Regions from separate parts of the Homo sapiens genome. Here region 2 is linked to region 1. The links are contacts of gene promoters, found by promoter capture Hi-C in blood cells and fetal thymus (Javierre and others, 2016). All regions are on one chromosome and are shown on one strand. Each heading gives the region's core, a stretch centred on a gene start or on the middle of the fragment in contact. The rest is flanking DNA. Distances are from core to core; before and after follow the strand shown.

Evidence for each region. The method cuts DNA at HindIII sites, captures the fragments that hold promoters and counts their contacts. A CHiCAGO score of 5 or more calls a contact.
Region 2: a fragment that was not itself captured here is called in contact with the fragment with the promoter of VAMP3 in region 1 in 1 of 17 cell types (endothelial precursors); the score reaches 6.4 in endothelial precursors.

What each region holds. Positions count from the first base shown.
Region 1 is chr1:7,769,457-7,773,780 of GRCh38, forward strand. VAMP3 (vesicle associated membrane protein 3) reads left to right here and starts at 1,840. Exons shown (of 5, transcript NM_004781.4): 1 at 1,840-1,929; 2 at 3,986-4,055. The coding sequence starts at 1,928. It overlaps CAMTA1 (calmodulin binding transcription activator 1), which reads left to right. Exons shown (of 23, transcript NM_015215.4): 23 at 1-250. RefSeq lists enhancers at 1,044-1,740, 1,484-1,533 and silencers at 1,767-2,009, 1,974-2,203. The HindIII fragment of the contact is 4,711 bases long and covers 1-3,756 here.
Region 2 is chr1:6,675,998-6,680,150 of GRCh38, forward strand. DNAJC11 (DnaJ heat shock protein family (Hsp40) member C11) reads right to left here. Exons shown (of 16, transcript NM_018198.4): 3 at 2,397-2,470. Among named protein-coding and RNA genes, the nearest start is that of DNAJC11, 24 kb to the right of the region's middle. The HindIII fragment of the contact is 1,332 bases long and covers 1,857-3,188 here.

The sequences.
Region 1 (4,324 bases), core at 590-3,089:
CAGTAGTTGGCGCCCAATGGGGGGTCCCTGAGACTTGCATGTAAAACTAGTCTAGATGTCTTCTTTTTTTGTAAGTTTTATTTTTGTAATTGTGCATGTAAAGCATCATTGAATCAATGGATCTGTTGAAGAACTCAGCTGCTGGAAACCATGCAAAATGTTTTGAATTGCCCTTAAAATATGGAAAATGTTTTCTGAATGCTTTATATTCTTTCTGCTGTAAATTAAAAATGAAGAAAATTTCCCCATACTACGTGTGTGTTTTGCTTTAATATGACCGGGTAGTGAAATCTAAGGTGATGGGCACATGTTTCAAAACATATGTAATAATGTCAAGGATTTCCTTCTGATCCAGATGTAATGTTTTGACATTGAATGTTACATTGTTTCAGCTAGGTCCATGAAAGAAAAAATGTCTTCCAGCCACCATTCAGAGAGCTTTTCCCCTATCTTTCCAGGCACCTCTCAACATGTCAATCATTTGTGTAAGGCAGTGCAATTATTTGAAAGATAAAGACATTAATTTAATTCACCTTTTCAGTTACAATCCTCTAAAGTCTTCTAAAAGGCATTTTCCAGCAGATTACGAACGTCGTCCTTTCTGAGTATTGTGTCATCGCCGCTCCCTTCCCGTTCACTGCAGAGCCTCTCCTTATCTCCCTAGTGCTCCCTCTTCCATCTAATCCATCTGGCCACTACTGCCAGAGAAATTTTGCATCATGGATCTCCCACGTCCGTAAGTCAATGGTTTCCAGGGCCCACTACAATTAAATGACATTTTTCTTGTTTGTTTATCCTCTTTATTCAGTCTTCTTTTCACTTGTACCCAACCTGCACCCTCTAGGTGGTCTGTGCACACTGCGTCCATTTTCACTGCTGTCTTTGTTCATGGTGTTTGCCCAACCCTTACTTGGAAAGTTCTTTTCCACTAGTACCCAGCTCAAATCCCACCGCCTTTGTGACACTCGTTTATTCGATATATACTAACGTTTCCCTTTTCAAAGTATTCTATTTAGAGTTGGAAAAAACAGCATAGTATTTAAGTACTGTATTTTTCACTTCTCATCTAAGAGACCCACCAATGACCTATTAGTGTTTTATTTTTTGGTGTAGGTAACTATGTTGGTAGGAATATTTCAGTAACAAATATATACAAGGTAACTCACTGCGTTCAGATTTGTGCTTCCCTCCCTTCGACCAAAACCTGAGGACCTATTCTGTGCTAGGGCCTGAAAATACAGAAATAAAGGAACTACAGCCTTGATGCCAAGGCTCTCGTAAGCAGATTATAATATGATCTGCAGTGACAAATATTTGTGTCACCGATGAAAACATGAGCGGGAACCTCACCCAACACCATGTGACAAATACCCGAAATGGACTTCCTATTTCAACTACTTTAGAGAAACATGGTGCCCTCAGGATCACTAGGTTACTCTGGAACACTCAGCAGAAGCCAGTCATCTGTCTCTAATACTGTTAGAAATGGTCCCGAGCCCAGAATAACATGAATTGCCCCCACCCTCACTTATCCACGCAGTCCCTCGCCAGTGGCTAATGCACCACGTTTACAGACCACGTCCCCAAGCGCCAGCGCGGACGGCGGTGCGGACAGGGAGCTGTATTGACCTGCGTTCTGCGTTTCAGAGCCCGGACCGCCCTGGGACCCCTGTGGCCCTCAAGTTCCCAAGTGACCTCGTCCGGGGAGGGGACGTCTCGCTCTGACCCCGCCCTGGACGCACCCACCCACGACGCCCCCGCCCACTTCCGGCGCGCCCCCTCTTCGCCCCGCCCACTCCCCCGGCTCCGCCTAGTGACGTCTTTGCCCCGCGCCGCGCCGTCCCACCCATCTCCCTGGCCTCCGGTCCCAACTTCGCTTCTCTGCTGACCCTCTCTCGTCGCCGCTGCCGCCGCCGCAGCTGCCAAAATGTGAGTGACGCTACGCGACGCGGGCGGCTTCGGGCCCCGCAGGCGGCAGCTCGCGCTGGGACCGCCATACTGCCCAGTTGCCGCCGGCCGCCACTCGGACGCAGGCCGGGGCTGCGCGGGGATCCCGAGGCCTGGGGGTGGGCGGTGGCCCTTGGGTCGCGGGCTGCAGACGGGCCGGGCGGGTCCCGCGGCCATCGGGCGGACGCGGAAGGGGCAAGGGCGGGGCGGCGAGACGCTTCCCGGAGGAAGTGAGCTGCCCGCCCGCAGCCCGCTCCTCGCCCCTTCCCTTTCTAGTCCCCGACGTCCCTGAGAGGAATGGGGACGACAGCCCTGGTTCGGGAGCGCCCGCTCTCGGCCCGGTGCTGCGCTGGGCCCCAGAAGTTGCGAAAGAAAGGACCTCGGCCCTGTCCTGAGCCCCTGTGGGCCGAAGAGCTCCTTGCCTAGCTAGGGGCATCTGCACTGGAAAGATCACTTAACCGTGGGCCTTCGCTCTCTTAAGCGAAAGCACGTTGCAAACCCCTGCTTCCAGTGGTAAGACTCAGAGAATGCTAATGGTTAAGAATCACAAGGACTCCCTCTTCCACCTCCATTCTGCTCATTGCTCACCGTCGGAGGAAGCCCCGGGTTTCTTCCAGGAGCTGGGGACCCCCCTCGAATGTTCCTGCTGAGGCTGCTGTGCCAATAGATCACAGTGGTTAAGATCTAGAGCCAAGGTACACAGGACCTGATCTAAAAACAAGCTGTCCTGCAGCCAGCTGTGTTGACTCTCTAAACCTCACTTTACTCATTTGTAAAATAGGAGTAATATTCCCCTCAGAGAGTTATGAGGGTTAAAGGAGGAAAAGCATGGAAAGAGTCTAGCGCCACGGCATGGTCCTTACTTATCTACCAGATACTAAACTCCGTGAGGACGGTGATGAGATCTGTTGTAGCCCTGGTCATTGACACATGACAGATGTAAAGTGACTGTTCAAACAGCCCATCAGACTGTTGTATACCAAGGCACATGCTAGGTGCTATCTAGGATACAGAGAAGAGAGTAAGAAGACCCAGGAACCTGTGATCTATTCGAGGAGGCGGGACTTTATACCTGAAAAACCAAAGTGATACTTTCCAAGTAATGGAGCCAATAATGACTTCAGAGTCAGAGTGGTTAAGAAAGATCTGCATGGGGAGAAATAAAGCCTTTGATGAAGATTTTAAAAGATGAGTACCTTCCTGGGCCGGGCGCGGTGGCTCATGCCTGTAATCCCAGCACTTTGGGAGGCCGAGGTGGACGGATCACTTGAGGTCAGGAGTTCGAGACCAGCTTGACCAACATGGTGAAACCCCGTCTCTACTAAAAAATACAAAATTAGCCGGGCGTGGTGGCACATGCCTGTAATCCCAGCTGCTTGGGAGACTGAGGCAAGAGAATTGCTTGGACCCAGGAAGCGGAGGTTACAGTGAGCCGAGATCGCGCCATTGCACTCCAGCCCGGGCAACAGGAGCGAAACTCCGTCTCTCAAAAGAGGGGGAAAAAGAAAGAGTACCTTCCTAAAAGAGGAGGCATTTCTTCAACACACCTTTCCACTCACACCACCCACTCCCTGCATCCCAGTGTTCCTGACTCTGTTTCTGTAAATTAATCTATTTTTCCATATTGGAAAAAGGGCATTCTGTAACTGTTTGTAACTATGAAAACAGTTCCTTCCACAATGAAAAGATCAGGAAAGTACTGAGTACATTCAAGCAGATGTGTGCCTTAGAACAAGTTTCAAAAAAGGACAGTAGAGCTTACCTATCGTGGGATCAGATACTTCAGGGATACAAAGTAGGTCCTATTAAAGCTTAACATTTGTCCCTTTAGTAGGTGGGACAGTCTTGGAAATTATAGAGAAATTAGAAGAAATGCAATTAAAACTTTCGTTCATTGCTTCAGGAAGAATTTCTTTTTCTGTTTTAGTTCTAATGTAAGAGATTGTTAACAGTGAGAGTCCCGGAGTAACATCTTTATACTTAAGAAAATGTATTTGGAATCGTAATGTACTCATGCTCATGCCTTTACATGTTCCAGGTCTACAGGTCCAACTGCTGCCACTGGCAGTAATCGAAGACTTCAGCAGACACAAAATCAAGTAGATGAGGTATTGCTCTGAAATGTTGGAAATATGAATTTTAAACAAATATGAGTACTCTGGAAATCTGTTTAGAAAAAGTATCATCAAAGTGTGAATGTAAAGCAAATTCTGACTGTATCATAATTGTAACGAAACTTTGCTCCCTGCTGTGCTGGAAGATCTAATCTAAGCAAAAGTCAGACTTTCTAGGTTTCACGCTTGTTTTCCTGTGATAGAAACCTGCTCATAACATTTAGCTCAGGAGAAATAAAAAATCATATGCCTAAAACATGAAC
Region 2 (4,153 bases), core at 1,273-3,772, 1.1 Mb before region 1:
AGAGTGACGGGGAAATTGAATAAATACAACAGAATTCTACTTTCCTTTTTGGATGAGAAAATGCTAAGTTATTTGGCTTAATACCTAGCTGCAATGAACCAATGTGACAGGAAGCACTGCTATTCCCATCAAGCCAGAGGCCAAATACCAACTGCCCACTGGAGCCAGGAGGACATGCAGATGAGAAGAGCCAGACATAACGCAAGGGGGAGTGGTGGGGACTGGGACAAATTGGACAGCCCAGCCCCATCTGAAGGGCAAGGGCTCCTCAGATCCACTGTTACCAGATCTTCAGATGTTTCAAGAAAAGACAGAAGACTGAATTATCATGCAGAACCTCCCAGGGTTGAAATGTTAGCAACTAGAATTCACTGTGTGAGGCAATCAAAAAATGGCAACAGGCTGGGTGCGGTGGCTCACACCTGTAATCCCGGCGCTTTGGGAGGCTGAGGGGGGAGGGTAGCTTCAGGCTAGGAGTTTGAGACCAGCCTGGGCAACATAGAAAGACCCCATCTCTACAAAAAATTTAAAAATTAGCTAGGCATGGTGGTGTGTGCCTGTAGTCGCAGCTACTTGGGAGGCTGAGGTAGGAGACTCACTTGAGCCTGGGAGGTCGAGGGTGCAGTGAGCCATGATGGCACCAACACACTGCAGCCTGGGCGACAGAGCACGCGCGCACTCTCTCTCACAAACACACACACACACCAAAAAAGGCTATTAGTGGAATATGGCCCATGAGCCACCAATATGAAGCAGTAGTGGAAAGGCAGGAAAGGAAATAGGATCCTCTTTTGCTTTTCTTCCACTCCTCATCTGAAGGCCTTTACAAGGCTTTGATGCCAGAACTGGAAGAGACAGGCACGCATGCTTGAGACTAAACATTGAATGAACTTTGGCCAGGTGTGGTGGCTCATGCCTGTAATCCCAGCACTTTGGGAGGCCGAGGTGGGTGGATCGTCTGAGGTCAGGAGTTCGAGACCAGCCTGACCAACATGGAGAAACCCTGTCTCTACTACAAATACAAAATTAGCTGGGTGTAGTGGCGCATGCCTTGTAATCCCAGCTACTCAGGAAGGCTGAGGCAGGAGAATCACTTGTTGCAGTGAGCCAAGATTGCGCCACTGCACTCCAGCCTGGGCAACAAGAGCAAAACTTGGTCTCAAAAAAAAAAAAAAAACAAAAAAAACGAAGGAACTTCAAGGGTAATCTTACATGATGGTGAAAATATAACTCAACGAGGGTCAATTCAATGTTATTAAACAGACTAGCAAAATTTATTGGGCATCAGAACCAAGTTTCTTTCTTTTTTTTGTGAGACAGGGTCTTGCTCTGTTGCCCACGTTAGAGTGTAGTGGCGTGATCATAGCTCACTGCAGCCTCAACCTCCTGTGCTCAAGTGATTCTCCCATCTCAGCCTCCTGAATAGCTGGGAATACAGGTGTGCGCCACCAAGCCCGACTAATTTTTAAAAAAATGTTTTGTAGAGACAGGGTCTTGCTATGTTTCTCAGGCTGGTCTCGAACTCCTGGCCTCATGTGATCCTCCCAGCCTGGCTCCCCAGAGTGTTAGGATTACAGGTGTGAGCCACTTTGCCTGGGTCAGAACAAAGTTTCTTTAATGATACCTATATATCCCTGTAGCAACTTAAGGGTTTCACAACTAATCTTCATATTCATTTTTCAGATAGTAACATGGAAGCACTAGTAGCCCAATGACTTGCCCAAGACTCTACTGCTAGTCAGTGGCAGTGTGAAAGCAAACAAATTGTCTGGATTTTAGTGACTGCTCTCCCACAGCATGGCTGCCCAGGGCGACACATTTGCTATATATTTTGTTTCACTCATCACATTTGACAAAGCTTGAATATTATAATACATGAGAATTGAAAGGGTCATTACAGGCAATGCAACCCCAGCAACTCTGCTTCCATTTTGCTCACGTGCATAACATACTCCCATCTGAAATATTTCCTCACAGCAATTATTCAGAACTGAGGTGGAGAGAGAGGCACAGAACTGTGGAGGGTGGAAGGGAGTGTATATGGAGACAGAACTGCACCCTTGAAGAAATCGTCTCCCATCAACCCCCTGCTCCGCTTGCTCCCGCCCCACACCTGGGTTAAAAATTACTGGTTCGGTCCATCCCTCTTCCGTTTTACTTGACAGGTTAGGGAACGAAGGACAAGTCAGATGAGTGGCTGGCCCAAGTTCAGAGTTACAAAGTGGCAAAGCCAAGTCCAAAACTCAACCTCTAAAACAAAAATACAGGGCAAGGAAGGGGGCTCTAATGGTTTCAAATATTCCCAAAGACAATATTACAGATTGCAGGGTTTTGGGGAGATGTTCTGTAACTGTTTAATGACTTTTCTGGAACACCAGACGCACAGTTTCTCTTACCTCCCATCCTTCCATTTCCAGTCCTCTCTTCCCATATATATCATAGATGGCCCTGGTTTGGGGGTCACTAAGCACTGCAAATTAAAAATTAAACATGTTTATAAAATACAAAATTCACCTTCAGTCCTTCCTGAGAATACTGACATCATTAGGTAAGCCCATCTCCTGTTCTCCCTGTCTGATCACAATCTTCCTAGAGACCCCTTTCATTTTCTACACATCTTTCCTCCCAACTGCTTTTTCGATTCAACCTAGGATTTGTTTATTGACTTATTGACTGACAGGGTCCTTCTCTGTTGTCCTGGCTGGAGTGCAATGGTAAGATCATAGCTCACTGCAGCCTTGAATTCCTGGGCTTAACTAATCCTCCTGCTCTAGCTTCCCAAGCAGCTGGGATTACAGGTGTGTGCCACCATGCCCAGCTAATTTATTTTTTGTAGAGATGGGGTCTCACTATGTTGCCTAGGCTGATCTCGAATTCCTGGCCTTAAATGATTCTCTTGCCTTGGCCTTGCAAAGTGTTGGGATTACAGGTGTGAGCCACTGCACCCAGCTAATGTAGGATATGTTTAAAGGCGGCTACAAATGAGAAAAGTCAGATTTTCCAGTGTCCAAGTTACTCTTGATTGGAAGGTACAGCTACAAGGTGTACAAGGTGCACCATGCAGGAAGTGGCACGGGCTCCTGCATTGGGAAAGGACATGAACGTTGTTTTTAAGATAATTTGGTAAATTTCTGCCACGGTGTATAAAAGTACACTGACTTGAAAGAGTGGGTTCCAGTTTCTAAAGAAGCTTGCTATAAAAGTAGAAACAGGCTCAGATACTAGAAAAAGCTGATTTGTTATTTACTCTATAGAGTTCTGTTAACTCCAAAGACAGGCTACATTTCTTTTGTGCACTTCTCCTCTCTATTTGTAAATAATTTTAAAAGACAAAAACATCTCTTATCATGTTGTTGGCCACATCACCCAAAATACATCAGAAAAGGATTTCTCAGCTAACGGTGAGGGCTGTTCAAACGATATCCCAACTGAACGATATCCCAACTGAACTCAAATGTCAGCAAGGCCAATGGTTGTTCTCTTCCCCCTCTGCTTCACCAATTTCTGCCAAGACCTTTGGGTCTCTTCTCCCCTGACAGTTCCCATATATTTGTAGGCCTAATTTAAAAACCACATAAATGATACTATGCATAATCAAATCTAACGGGAAAGGAAGAAATGCTGGCCCCTGGAAAACACAGGAGCCAAACTTGTGTTCCTCTCCAGCATTTAATAAGGAATTATTCATTCACTATTTTACCTGAGTCTCCCTTTAAGCTAAACATGAGGCCAGGTCTGCTGTTGTGGCACTTTCACTAGCACTGGTAGGGTTTTTCTTTAACTCTTCCCCAGGTCTCCAACACAATACAAGCAAACTATGTGGCTAATTTAGACAACAGTAAAATTAATGCACCCATTTAGATAACAGAATACAATAAAAAGAACAGGCTACTCTTCACAACCGCCATGCAAATGATCTGAATACAGTTAAATTTGGTAATGACACTACACCGACTGTACACATTTATCACACACTGCAGCCTGATTTTCACTGGCCATTAAAATCTAACTTTTTGGTAAAACTATAAAGTGAAAAACACTACAAGCTATTATGTATACAGTGAGATGACTTTATGATTTTATAAAGAAACATATTATCTAATTTTTGGTCTAAGGAGCAAATCACCAGATGGTTCTGGAACAAATAACTTAT